Linked DNA regions of Homo sapiens: all the other regions are linked to region 1. Evidence: promoter capture Hi-C in 16 types of primary human blood cells and fetal thymus (Javierre and others, 2016). All regions are on one chromosome and are shown on one strand. Each heading gives the region's core, a stretch centred on a gene start or on the middle of the fragment in contact. The rest is flanking DNA. Distances are from core to core; before and after follow the strand shown. Region 1 holds the start of TAFA4 (TAFA chemokine like family member 4). Region 2 overlaps SUCLG2-DT (SUCLG2 divergent transcript). Region 3 overlaps SUCLG2 (succinate-CoA ligase GDP-forming subunit beta). Region 4 overlaps SUCLG2 (succinate-CoA ligase GDP-forming subunit beta). Region 5 overlaps SUCLG2 (succinate-CoA ligase GDP-forming subunit beta).

Region 1 (2,700 bases), core at 178-2,677:
TGAATGTAGAACCCCCATTTTAATAATAAGAGAGTAAGAGATTGAAACTGTTTAACAAGTAAAATGTGCTATGGTATGTGTGGTACGGGGAACAGAAGCAGAAGGCCTGCCATACGTTAGTTCAAGGGGTAGAGTCAGAGAAGGGTGAACATACTTTGGAGTGCAGCAGGGGCAGGATGGCACATAATTGTATGTCAATGCAGAGTAAAAGGACCAGAAGATGATAAGCCAAGCCAATGACAGTGAGCAGCATAGTGGTACAGAGCAACGTTTTCTAACTTTATGCATGCACCAGCCACTTGGGCATCTTGTTAAAATGAAGATTCTACTTCTGGGGTGGGGCCTGAAAGTCTGCAGTTCTAAAGTGTTCTCAAGGGACCGCTCTACGACGCCATGCTTTGCATACTAAAGAGCATGGATTTACTAGTTACCTGTGTAATCTTCAGTAAACGATTTAACTTCTCTGTGCTTCAGTTATCTCATCTATAAAATAGAGATCAGATGAACTAATCCCAGTAAAATGAATACCATTAAGTGACACTGATTATCAGTTACTTCACTTGCGGAAGAGTGGAGGGCATGACTAGGAATGGGGTGGGAGGAGGGAGTCAAAGAAGTCTTAGCTGAATTTTTTTTTTTTTTTTTTTTTTTTTTGAGACGAAGTCTCGCTCTGTCGACCAGGCTGGAGTGCAGTGGTGCGATCTCGGCTCACTGCAAGCTCCGCCTCCCCGGTTCACGCCATTCTCCTGCCTCAGCCTCCCGAGTAGCTGGGACTACAAGCACCCGCCACCACGCCTGGCTAATTTTTGTATTTTTAGTAGAGACGGGGTTTCACCGTGTTAGTCAGGATGGTCTCGATCTCCCGACCTCATGATCCACCCGCCTCAGCCTCCCAAAGTGCTGGGATTACAGGCGTGAGCAACCGAGCCCGGCCCCAGCTGTATTTTATACATTAAAAAAGAAAAGTATTTAGGTATTCATACGTGGGCCGAGTTTTCTCCTCTCTCATACAAGCACATTACACGCGAAGCCAGATTAGTTCATGAATGTGCTACTGCACGGGGTGGCTAAGAAATCCTGCTTGCAAACCGCTTTGGGTCCTGCGTGGAGAATGGTTTCGAGTGAGAGCCGAACCCTAAATCCGTCTTCCTTATGTGGAGCTCAACGCGACTCTCAGGTATTCAGGAAGAATACCTTTTGCTCAGCACCTGCGGAGTGGTGGCCACAGCGAGGCGCTCGGGAGAGGCGCCTGGAGGCCGGCAGTGGGGGCGCGCCGCCTGAGCAGGGGTGCGGGGCGGGGAGAAGGCCGGCCCACGTGGACCGCGGGGCCAGGCAGGGACAGGAGCAGCCGGGCGGCCCGGCCAATCAGCGCGTTCCGCGGCGGGCCCGGCCCCTCCTGGTCAGCGCGCTAGCTGGGCTCGGCTCCGCACTGCTAGCTGCGCGCCGCCCTGGACGGGGCGCACCGACTGCGCGCGCGGCTGCGGGCAAACATCGGGAGTCCTGCCTCAGCTGCCGCTTCTCCAGCAGCAGCTTCAGGCTTCTCCCGCAGGAGCTTCGGGCTTCTCCTGGTAGAGACGTGGGAACTTTTCTTCTCCTGGCGAGGCTGCAGAGGTGATGGGCCGCTCCCGGGGCTCCCGCGGGGAGGCGGCACGGTGAGCGTCCTCGGGCTCCGGTGCGGCGATCAGTACCTAGTTCCGGACGCGCCGGTCCGACTTGGATGCCGGCTCTAGTCGAGTAAGAAGGGTTGGAAGGGATAAGGAGGGGCGAGAGGATGGGGTGGGGGTGGATTTGGACCCTGTATTTAGGTGCTGTCTCGTGGGCAGCCGCTGCCTCTCGGCTGGTACCGAGTTAACTCAGCTCGGTGCAGCTCCCCTCATCCCGGCTCTCTGGGGCGCCGGGGAGAGTGCCTGTGCTGAGGTCGGCGTGCAACCCGAAGTTGGAAGGGGCACTCCGAAGTAAGGATGTGTGGCTGGAGAGAGGCAGCGGCCGCTTCCAGTTTCGGGGTTCATGTCTGACAGAATCCCCGGGGGTGCTCTGCTGATGCGGAGGAGGCCACTCGATGAATTGGTATAGGGGGTGGTGAACTCACCGTGAGCTCTTTTCTGGACAAGTCGACCTTAGCGCTTCATCCCTTTAATCTGAGCTAGGATCTTTCTAGGAGCAAGCAGGTGGGAGCCGGTCAGCGTCCCCCCGCCCCCACCCCCACCCTGAAGCTCTGGTTGCTAGGATCTTGCTTGAAGGGCGCAGCGAGCGCTCGGGAGGCGTCTTCCAGCTGGGAGCGCAAAGCTTCCCGCCCAAGTGGAGAACTGGAGCGGGTCTGGAAGTTGCGTCTCTTTCCGCGGGAGGCATCTCAGATTTGCCCACCAAGGTGGCATCTCTACATTTCTTTCGCTCTTTTTCCCACTTTGCCCTGTTAATCCGCTCCTAGAAGAGAGGGCATCCTTGACCCTACGCAAGGAGCTCGGGAGAGGATTGGAACTGGAAAGCTTGATCTCCTGCACCTGGTGAGGCTGCCCAAGCCAGACACAGTGCCGCTGGTGCGTTTTCTTCTCGAATCAGCATCATTTAACGTTTAGGGGCTCCACGGAGCCTTAGTAAAGCTGTGAATCAGCTCCTAAGCAGTATGTACATGCACGGGTTCACGGACTCGCCGAGACCTAGCCTGGTGCCCATCCCCCGTCACCGAGATTCAGGGACCCC
Region 2 (2,700 bases), core at 173-2,672, 1.2 Mb after region 1:
CACTCCTAACATGTAGTTATCCAGAGACACAAAAGTACATTATTATAAATGATTCAAACAACAGTAATAAACTCTCTCCCCCCAACCCCCACTCCACTCAGGCCGACTTTCTGTAATGGCCATTTAGTCCCTCCATTTAAAAATAAAATCGGCGTCATGGTGAGTTTTCAAAGGTGCCTGTTGCATGGATCACATTTGATGAGCAAAAAATCCCTGCTGAGAGCAACCTGTCTTCAAAGTAGCTTATTTTTACCCCAGAAATCCCTGACACGGGAGGGAAATGTAATTTGAATTTGGGTCCAATGACTAGGAGCTTAGAAAGCAGGTATTGTGAAGATAGCTCCACAACTGAAGAAGCTGCCCCTCGTCAGAAGCCCAGAGGGAAAGTTTCGCCAAGAACCGAAGCCTTTTCACTGCTCCTCACACCGCGTAGTTGAAACAGCAGTTGATTTTACAGCTAATAAGGCATTAAACTGAATCTCTTAAGCTTTTCATATGGAAAGTAATTGTAAATTGAATTTGCTAAAACAATAACTTAAAGAGGCAAGACTTGAATGTTATCGGAGCAAATCAAATGATGATGCGGAATTCAAAGAGCCACTGAAACAAGTGTCTTCAAGTACTTTATCGATCTGCCAGAAGCAGCCGCTGTCTACGCCGAGCTTTGCTTGGCAAGTGGAATTATCGCACATTGATTATTCATCATGGAGTCAGCCTGTAAGTCTCTAGCTCCAGGTGGGCTGGTCATGCATGTTTCAACACTGACTCTTAGTAAAGATAAGGCCACCTTGGAAGAAGTAGAGAGATAGCATCTGGTCTGGGCTCAGAGACGGGAGTTGGTCCATTTTCAGAAGGGAATGGGGACTGAAGGAAGCAGAACATTTTAAAGTTAGCTCTTTAAAAAACGCATTTATAAAGGCGCTGATTGTACTGTTCACTAGGGCTGCTATAACAAAGTGCCACATGGTCGGGGGTGGAGGGAGCCCGAAAAACAGAAATTGGCCAGGGGCAGTGTAATCCCAGCACTTTGGGAGGCTGAGGAGGGCAGGTCACTTGAGCTCAAGAGTTCAAGACCTGCCTAGGCAACATGTTAAAACCCTGTCTCTACAAAAAAAATAAATAAATAAGGAAATTTATTTTCTGATCATTCTGCAGGCTACAAGTCCAAAATACACGTGTACTGCAAGGGTTGATTCCTTCTGAAGACTTCGAGGGAGGACTCTGTTCCGTCCCTCTCTCCTGGCTTCTGCGGGTTTGCCTTGGTATTCCTTGGCCTGTGGTAGCATCACCCCAATATCTGTCTTTGTGTCCACATGGCATTCATCCTGTGTGTGTCTCTGGATCCGAACTTCTTTTTATAAGGACATAAGTTAGAACTCCTTCTAATGTCCTATTTTAACTTGATTACCTCTACAAGGTAATTACATTCTGAGGTACTGGGGGTTAGGACTTCAACCTATAAATCTTGGAGGGATATAATTCAACCCAGAGAAGTGACATTAACCAGTGACATAAAAAAAAAGGGCACAGAATAACTCAGTAATTGTCAACGTTGGGTGGAGCTCACAATATCCTGGGGAGCTTTAAAAATTAGCTATGCCTGGGTCTCACCTTCACTGATGTTGATTTAATTGGTCTGGGTTAAGCCCCAGGTATTGGTATTTTTAAGAGGCACCTTAGGTGGTTCTAATGTGCAGCCAGGACTGACAATCACTCATTAAATGCCTCATAAAGCCTGCTGTCATTCAGAGAGGGAACTATAAAATATATCAATTATTTTAAGCATTATGTTAAGTCCTGGAACTACATTAGTGATCAACGCAGATAAAGAAAATGCAGATACAGTTTGGATCCAGAGACATACTCTGGGTGAACAACATGTGAACATGAAGACAGGGATTGGCGTGATGCTTCCACAGGCCAAGAAGCTGTATCTGCACTGATCACATAATGTCTGGCCTGAGGTAGCAGCCCCATAAATATTGATAAGAGAATGAAAGAATGCATATATGAATAAATTCAAGTCAACACAAATTCATTGTCTACTATATGTTAAGCATTACATTAAGCACTGGAGAAATGTAAGTAATTTTTTAGTAAATGAATGTGTGAATGAATGGATGAATAAATGAGATCATAATCAACATTACCTTCTGGTCTACTGATAATTTCTGGTGAGGTGTTACAACATGGGATTCAGCATTTTCAACATGCTAGAAGAAATCCATTCTAGCAAAAATATTTTTAAATCAACTAAATAGCCTGACTTCTACCTAGGAATTTTTTAAAATTGTAATGACTCATATAATTAAGACCTTAGGACCATCCTTTTTTACAACTGAGCACAAAGAAGCTTACATAATAGACCATGAACCATTTGTAGACACGTTTCAGTATCCCTACAGAATGTCCAAGAGGTATCACTAATGTGTAGGACAGAAAGATAGACAGTCCCAATATAAAAAATCATAGTCATAAAAAATGCTTGCATTCAAAATAATACTATTCAGATACCACTGCCAAGAGAATTATCCAACCTAAGATGCAAATGTGAGGATTTATTCTTCACAGAATTAGTCAAACAGAAGTTGAATAGCATATAAGGTGAGCAGTGCCGAATTTGATCAGTTTTGATAACTGGACTAGATGATTTTAGTCTTGTGAAAAGGCTTCTTTTGTCTTTTTGATTATTTGTTTTGT
Region 3 (2,708 bases), core at 143-2,642, 1.4 Mb after region 1:
CATTTAAAAAATTTAATAAACTTATTAAAGTATAATCTCCATACAGAACAGTATACAAATTTTAAGTATACAGCTTGATGAATTATTACAAAGTGAACATATCATCTAACCTCCAGCCAGATCAAGAAATAGAACATGGCTGGATGCGGTGGCTCATGCCTGTAATCTCAGCACTTTGGGAGGCCGAAGTGGGCAGAAGGTCGGGATTTCAAGAGCAGCCTGGCCAAAATGGTAAAACCCCGTCTCTACTTAAAATGCAAAAATTAGCCAGGCGTGGTTGCAGGCACCTATAATTCCAGCTACTTGGGAGGCTGAGGCAGGAGAATTGCTTGAACGCAGGAGGCGGAGGTTGCAGTGAGCCGAGATTGTGCCATTGCACTCCAGCCTGGGAGACAAGAGCGAGACTTCGTCTGGAAAAAAAAAAAAAAAAAAAGTAAAAGAAAAAGAAATAAAACATAACAGGGATCCTGGAAGCCTCCTCCTCATGCAGTCCCCATCATTTTCCTACCCTGCTTTCTCTCCACAGGTAATTTCTTTTCTTTTCTCTCTTTTTTTTTTTTTTTTCTTCTGACTTAGCCTCCTGAGTAGCTGGGACTAAAGGCGTCTGCCACCATGCCCGGCTAATTTTTGTATTTTTAGTAGAGATGGGTTTACCTTGTTGCGCAGGCTGGTCTCAAACTCCTGATCTCAAGGGGTCCTCCCGCCTGGGCCTCCCAAAGTGCTTGGGTTACAGGCAGTAGCCACTGTGTTCGGCCCTCAAAGGTAATTTCTAATATCACAGATTTGTTTTACCTATTTTTAAACTTAATATCACTGGAATCATGTACTGTATACTCTTTTGCATTTGTTATCTTTTACTTTACTTTTGCTACTGGTTAGTCTTTTCAATTTTAGTCATTCAGGTAAGTATGAGGCATTATCTCATTATGGCCTTTCTGTCATGACTAATGAGGTTGAGCACCTTTTCATGTATTTATTAGCCATTTGAATATACTCTGTAAACTTGTATTACCTCATCTATAGACATGAAAATAATACCTTAAAGCATTGTTTTAAGTACCAACTTGCAAACCTTTCTAAAGCATAGTGAAAACTTTGGCTTTTTATATTTTCTGAGTGTTTCATTCCATTATCACTTCCAAAACTTAGATTTAGAATAAATGCACATCTCAGAAATGGGAGGTGTCTGATACAGGTTCAGTGATAATCAGTGTTACTTCATGTGTTGTTTTGAAATTGATGGAAGGTGTAAGTGACTCAGCTTACAATGATTCTCTACTCAGACAACCAAGGAAACAGTTAATAAAGGGAGGATTAAATTCATGTTTGAAAGAAGAACAAAATATAATTTGTTATAAATTTGAGAAGAGGCCAGCTCTTTTTGTGCTCTATGGTATATGTTTCAGAAACTTTAGAATGTGAAGCCAGAGAAGTAAAACTGCATGCCATATTTTCAGAATCAGGTATATGCAAATGCCTTACGTTTTAATATATTTTAGGATTCACTTGTGCTGTCTCATATTTTTAAATTATTGCACATTTAGAGTTTATTTAAGTACAAAGAAGAATATCCTGTTTTCTTTCAGATACATGCGTATAACTGAGGCACAGAGCTGTTTAAACTTAAACTGAGGTGCCGTAAAATTGTCAGGAGTTGATTTGAATAACCAGTGATTCACGGATTGAGCAGCTCCAAACCAAAAGTGCTTCCAGGGCTCCATCAAAAGAATGTGAAGGGAAGACTTTTATAGGGCAAACACGAAAGTAAAGCAAAGAAAATACTGGATTGGTTACAGTTATACTGTTGCCTTATTTGGTCTATCCTCCTGGAAAGTTCTAGTTATGTAACCATAAGTTAGATAACTAGAACTTTCTGCTTCCAATTGGTTAGCCTTAAGTTTCATTTTTCTGTAACATAGGCATTTACAAGAAATAGCTCAAGTTTTGTTTATGTCTGCAAATCAAGCAGAGTTAAGATCACTTATGAGGCCTAACTGGCTTTGTCTGCTCAGAGATTCTTCAGGTCTGGTGTCCATTTTAATTTATTGTAACAAAGCAAAACCCATTTCATTACACACCACATGTGTTTGCTGAAATACCTTATCTGCAAGCGACTGTTTTCTTTGTAGGGAAGTAGAACTCTTGTAGGAATTTATTTTCGAATATAGTGCTCAATACTTTATACAACACAAGCATTATTTTTGAAATGACTACCCTGCATTTCTATTCTTGCAGGTTTGCTTGAAAATATGTATTTTTTTCATATAGAGTGGAAAAGATTAAAATTCCAGGCAGCCATTCTTTCTAGTGGTAGTCGACCTGATAGTCTAGTCTGTGGAGAATGATTAATTTTGTGTTGATCAGCTGGTCATTTAGTCTCCACTTCCACTTAGAATAGCTCTTTATTTAGGGAAGTCACTCTGCATAAGCTAGAGGATGGAAAACCATCTACCACTCTGGGCCCTTTTCTTTTTTCCCCCGGCAGTAGTTTTCCCAGTGTGAGGAATTCATAAATGTTGATTTTTGCATATCTTTTCCTGATGTCTAGTTAATTAAAATTTCCAAGAATATCTGGCCCTCCTTGCCCACCTCACATTTGTTCCATTTTACCTGCCAATACTTCTCAGTAATAAGTGGGTCCTGGTGACTGCATTTGGTTTTGTGTCTTCCACATGATCGGTGTATCTGCTAGCTACCACATTTTCAAA
Region 4 (2,728 bases), core at 217-2,716, 1.5 Mb after region 1:
GTTGAAATTAATTCATTCATTGTTAAACCATTATTTTTACGTGATTATGCCATATCATGGATTGTGCTGGCTACTGATTATTAAAAAAATGGGAAAATACATAATCTTTGTTTTAGAGAAGCACAAAGATGATCCAAACACGGGAGTTGCATCTTGGGATGGGGAGAGGAAGGTAAGAGGAGAATAAAGTACATTGGAGAACAACAGCTATTCATTTCTCAGTAAGTCTAACAAAACCAGTTATCCCTCTGCAGTTAGAAAAGAAGGCTTTTCCTGGGGTTCAGCACCAACTAAAGTAGTTAAATTTTAACCGCAAGTGGTTATATGAAGAGTATCTATTTTTAACATCGGACTCTAATTAAACACGAGATACTAACACATGAGAGACTCATGGGAACTGATGCCACCTGAGGCAACACTGATTCCTGTTTGACACTTACTCCAGGCACTCACCCACTAAGTAGAATTGAATCACAGGGTCTCAAGCCCCTTCTCTCCTTTTTGCTCCTATCCCTCACTCCTGCCTGTTTAGGTGAATTCACATAAGATTATGATGTAAACTATACTCTGTAAAATGATCGTAAAGCTTTAGATGGGTTAAACAGAGTCAGTGATTCTAATTTAATGAGAATTCCCTGAGAAGTTGACATCCGAACTTGTCCTTAAGGAATATGCAGACTGGAACATGGCAGAGGCATGCAGGTGCCAATGTGTGTTTTACTAGAATGCCAAGTTCCTCTGCACAAACCTTACTGAGCCTCAGCAGGTCCTGAGTTTCTATCATGGACCCCATGGAGTCATTCTTGCTCTTGAATGTTTTTCTTCTATTGTTCTGGCAAGTTCCTCTCCATCCTACAGTTATTTGGAAACTACTGCTGTACCAAGCCTCAATGCTAACAGCATTTAATAGCTGTCATTAGAAAGCAAGCTTCTGCTTACCAGTTGTCCTACTGTGAATAGTAATGGGAGATTTCTTTTCTGGGAGTAGCCCCAATCTCTAATTGGTTTGAAAAATATTGTTCATTTCTTTGATTCTTAAGGCATTACCTTTTTGTTGAATTTCAATAAGTTTGTATTTCCATTATATTTGAATTCAACATGAGCTGCAGTCTACTGAAAAAGGTTTTCTTACTTGCCCACTTTCATCAATGCTTGCTGAATAAATGCAAGTGTAAATACCCATTAAGTACATTTAAAGCCATGTGGTAAACATTTCACATGTATTACCTCATTTAGGCCTTTCAACATCCTGTGGGCTAGGTCCTCTTTTTATTCCCATAATACAGATGAGGAAATGTTCAAGAGAGGTTCTGTAACTCGACCAAGGTCCCAGCCCTAGCAACAACATCAATGAACAAATCAGTAGACAATCTAGGGAGCTGGCTTTGGGCCTGGCCACAGCCACATGACAGCTGTGTGACCTTGGGACAACATGCCCCAATGCGCCCGATGGCTTTCTCAGCTAGAGAGCCAACCTTCACCCTACCTAATAAATAGGGTTCTGGGAAGGCTCACAATAAAAAATAAGGATTTGTGTGATGGCACTTTCTAAACATTTAAATGCTATACAAATGTAAGATATTCTCTTCTCATATGTTTGGTGTAGGTAATTTAACAGACAGAAATAATAGGATTCTATGCAGCACATATATATATGCTTTACAATTAGTGTGGCATAATTTAATTGTGACTCTACTGTTGGAATTTTGATGCCTCCAGCTTCATGAACAGCCATTTTTCTGTGGGTGTTATCAATTAATCTAGGTAATGAATTCTCTTCATTATCTCGTTCTTCATGTTAATTATACAGGATTTTCTTATGCCTAGTTATCAAGTCAGGACAAGTAGAGTTTGTTTTTTTTTTTTTTTTGGCCCACATGCCTTTGAATATGGAATATGTACAAACAAGTTAACATGATGGGTGATGGGTTTAAATTTACATTTCTAAGAAGCTCCAGTCAGTAGCTTGACTTTCCTTACATTCTTACTTATGCTATAAGCTTGGATCTCTTTATTTCGAGAGTCTTTTTTTAATCAAAAGGTTGCTGTCTAAGATAATTAAACTATCTCTGATTTTTGAGAACATACCTCTAGCATATCAAAGAGGTATTAAGGAAGCATGAAAACATTTGAATCTTTTTTACCTTTTAATACAAAACAATAAATGGTTTCTGATTTTGAAATATTGTGTGAGGCACCATGACATATAAAAAGGCAATTGTAAATCGTGGAGGAAAAAAACCTAAATGCAAGAAATTTTAAATGATACTACTCATAAAAAGAATAGACAATAATATTTTCAGAAAAAGAAGACATTATATAATAGACGAATGAATGATGATTAAATTCATTTTGAGTTGAAAAGAGTGATTGATGGGAAAATTTGGTAATGTTATATTGTGATATTTATTAATTTATTACTAATATGAGCTTTCTTAACATGTTCTGGGCCATTTTTGTATTTTATGCTCTGTATAAAACAAAAACAAAAAAACGAGCAGTCTTATTTTAATTGTCTCTATTATTTAACCAGTTATTTTTGAGACTGTTGGCGATCAGCATTTTGATTGGTAACTTTTTATTTTTGATTTCAGGTTGAAGCCATCCTTGTCAATATATTTGGTGGTATCGTCAACTGTGCCATCATTGCCAATGGGATCACCAAAGCCTGCCGGGAGCTAGAACTCAAGGTGCCCCTGGTGGTCCGGCTTGAAGGTGAGTCATGGTA
Region 5 (2,700 bases), core at 120-2,619, 1.5 Mb after region 1:
GCAAGATCAGTACTTACGAGACCTGCTTCTTCTCATGCACTTTGTCAACCTCTAGTGTATGTGTGGTGGCCTCTTGGATTTGCCCTCATGGCTCAATTAGACAGAGTTCTCGTAGGTATTGAAAGCTTTTTTTTAACTACAATTTTTTGTGAACAGAAATTAAGCTAATTATTAAACCAGCAAGAAAACAGTTAAAAAGCTGTGTTTTATAGATGTTTTTGTAGAGCTAGGCTAACTAAGCATCTCTGTGCAAATAAGTTTTTTTTTTTTTTTACTAAATCCCGCACCTCATACTTCCTAGCTAATATGACCCTGGTTTAGTCTTTACACCTTAAATTTAATTCACCCAATGTCTGGATTTATTATTAATTCTGCTAGGAACTCTCTATCCCTCTGGGCATTTGAGCAGTTTGCTTATTAATCAGCTAATGTGGTAGGCTCATCTACCTCGCTACTCAGTTTATACCTCATTTCGCAGTTCTCTGCAGGAAGAAATAGCCTTTTTTCCTCACACAGCAGCTAGCAAAAAGAAAGGTCACTCAGTCACTTGAATCTGGGCCCACTCCCCCATCTTCTAGAAAGGATTCTCCCTCCTTCCACACCCACCGTGCGCACCTTCCTATCTTTATCCTCAGTGGGCATCACGGCTCACATCCGAAAGTTTCCCTGAATAAAATTGGTTCCTTTCAGCCAATTGCAAGCACAGATGAGGTCACAACTGGTAAATGGAATGAAAAAATAAACCAGTAGCATATTTAGCTTGAAGTAACATTCCAGCTAAATATTTTAAAACTTGTTAAACAGGGTTTGGGGAAGCCATATGAAGTGGTTTCTCCTGGAGGTCAACTTTAGGGTTTTTCAAATGGTTATAAAGTGGTGTTCTATGGGGTAGCTTTTATAGAAGGGCTATTTTGAACTTTTACTAGAGGAAATGGCTAGCAGCAACCTCCCCCAACCCCCAGAAGTACAGTGAGGAAAAACCCAAAAGACAAATAATAGACACCCTTTCCCCTAACATAGGGGAGAACAGTACAGCATAACAAGATACCATCTCAGCTTTATTTCTTACCTATTCAGAGGATTTTAAGATCAGGAAGCTCGAGAGAAATTAGTTATTCCTTCAATTTAATTCAATCCAATAAAAGAGTATGGAGTTCCTCTTCGTTTTAAAATTCTGACTGTGGTGTTACGGAAGGACCTTCTAGGTGAAAGGGTAACCGAAATAACAAAGGTTCCATTTCGTCCTTCAGCAAATTCAAAAGCTTGAGAGCGAGTCATACAATGTGATTATTTGATAATTCTCTCTATATTCTGATAGAAGAACCAGAGGGATATAAAAGACAGAAAGGTAAAATGGGATGGCATATGGTAACAACTGGAGGCTTAGAACCTAGCAGATCGGGGTCACCATGTTGGATGAATGTGAAGGGTAATTATGCCGGGAGAGGTCACAAGAAGAATCTTAAATGAAGCTTCTAAGGATAGGCAGGATTTTACCAGGTGTAAAGAAAAAGGAAGCTCTAGGCATAAGGATAGAAATTAGATAAAAAATAAACAACAAATTTGGAATATAATATTGTATAGCTGGAACGTTTATAGTTGACCACAGAAAGTTTCCTTCGCAGCTGTTTGCCCAAGGTTTCACCAGTGCATGTGACTTTGTATTTCAAATCAGACCTTGTTGATCATAAATTAATATTATCACCTCTAGTACTGTCCTAGACCTGCAGGATACAGCATTTACTAAGACCAATTGCTGTCTGTAAAAAGCTTCTTAGTCTAGTATAATATGCAGCCAGTTACTTGCTGCTTCTTTACTGAAACAAGTTTAATAAACCAGCAAAACAATGCCTAGCAACCCACTGTTGCTGGGTTTAAAAGTAAAGATGCTGGTTGTCATCTGCCAGGCGTGTACTTCAAAAGGTAGTTAGCCTCCCATCTAGCCTCCCATTGTTAAATCTAGTGCCTGCTAACAGTATCTCTTGACAGCTGAAAAATGCAGTTGGGACAAAGGGAATCTGAACAGACCATCCATCATCCCCTTCCTGCATTTCTTAAGGTTAGACACCCTCAATGTACCACCCAAAGAGAACAAACATGGTCTCCAGTGCCCAATTGAGCCACCAGCTGCTGACCCCTAAGTAATTATTATTTGTTTGTATTTAACTTAGGTTTTCTTTTATTATTTTATTATACTTTAAGTTCTAGGGTACATGTGCACAACGTGCAGGTTTGTTACATGTATACATGTGCCATGTTGGCTTGCTGCACCCATTAACTCATCATTTACATTAGGTATATCTCCTAATGGTATCCCTCCCCCCTCCCGCCACCCCACGACATGCCCCGGTGTGTGATGTTCCCCACCGTGTGTCCAAGTGTTCTGATTGTTCAGTTCCCACCTATGAGTGAGAACATGCGGTGTTTGGTTTTCTGTCCTTGTGATAGTTTGCTGAGAATGATGGTTTCCAGCTTCATCCATGTCCCTACAAAGGACATGAACTCAACCTTTTTTATGGCTGCATAGTATTCCATGGTGTATATGTGCCACATTTTCTTAATCCAGTCTATCATTGATGGACATTTGGGTTGGTTCCAAGTCTTTGCTATTGTGAATAGTGTCACAGTAAACATCAATACCTAGTTCACTGAGAGTTTTTAGCATGAAGGGGTGTTGAATTTTATCAAAGGCCTTTTCTG

The links. The method cuts DNA at HindIII sites, captures the fragments that hold promoters and counts their contacts. A CHiCAGO score of 5 or more calls a contact.
Region 2: a contact is called between a fragment that was not itself captured here and the fragment with the promoter of TAFA4 in region 1, in 1 of 17 cell types (M0 macrophages). The highest score is 5.2, in M0 macrophages.
Region 3: a fragment that was not itself captured here is called in contact with the fragment with the promoter of TAFA4 in region 1 in 1 of 17 cell types (M2 macrophages); the score reaches 5.4 in M2 macrophages.
Region 4: a fragment that was not itself captured here is called in contact with the fragment with the promoter of TAFA4 in region 1 in 1 of 17 cell types (M0 macrophages); the score reaches 6.2 in M0 macrophages.
Region 5: a contact is called between a fragment that was not itself captured here and the fragment with the promoter of TAFA4 in region 1, in 4 of 17 cell types (M2 macrophages, naive B cells, total CD4 T cells and 1 more). The highest score is 5.6, in M2 macrophages.

The regions. Positions count from the first base shown.
Region 1 is chr3:68,931,274-68,933,973 of GRCh38, reverse strand. TAFA4 (TAFA chemokine like family member 4) reads left to right here and starts at 1,427. Exons shown (of 6, transcript NM_182522.5): 1 at 1,427-1,734. The HindIII fragment of the contact is 2,333 bases long and covers 1-2,288 here.
Region 2 is chr3:67,701,681-67,704,380 of GRCh38, reverse strand. The region is part of intron 3 of SUCLG2-DT (SUCLG2 divergent transcript); the gene reads right to left. Among named protein-coding and RNA genes, the nearest start is that of SUCLG2-DT, 48 kb to the right of the region's middle. The HindIII fragment of the contact is 1,866 bases long and covers 490-2,355 here.
Region 3 is chr3:67,489,087-67,491,794 of GRCh38, reverse strand. The region is part of intron 9 of SUCLG2 (succinate-CoA ligase GDP-forming subunit beta); the gene reads left to right. Among named protein-coding and RNA genes, the nearest start is that of SUCLG2, 160 kb to the left of the region's middle. The HindIII fragment of the contact is 7,549 bases long and covers 1-2,708 here.
Region 4 is chr3:67,400,718-67,403,445 of GRCh38, reverse strand. It overlaps SUCLG2 (succinate-CoA ligase GDP-forming subunit beta), which reads left to right. Exons shown (of 11, transcript NM_003848.4): 10 at 2,595-2,715. Among named protein-coding and RNA genes, the nearest start is that of MIR4272, 180 kb to the right of the region's middle. The HindIII fragment of the contact is 1,072 bases long and covers 931-2,002 here.
Region 5 is chr3:67,431,375-67,434,074 of GRCh38, reverse strand. All of the region lies in intron 9 of SUCLG2 (succinate-CoA ligase GDP-forming subunit beta), which reads left to right. Among named protein-coding and RNA genes, the nearest start is that of MIR4272, 210 kb to the right of the region's middle. The HindIII fragment of the contact is 210 bases long and covers 1,265-1,474 here.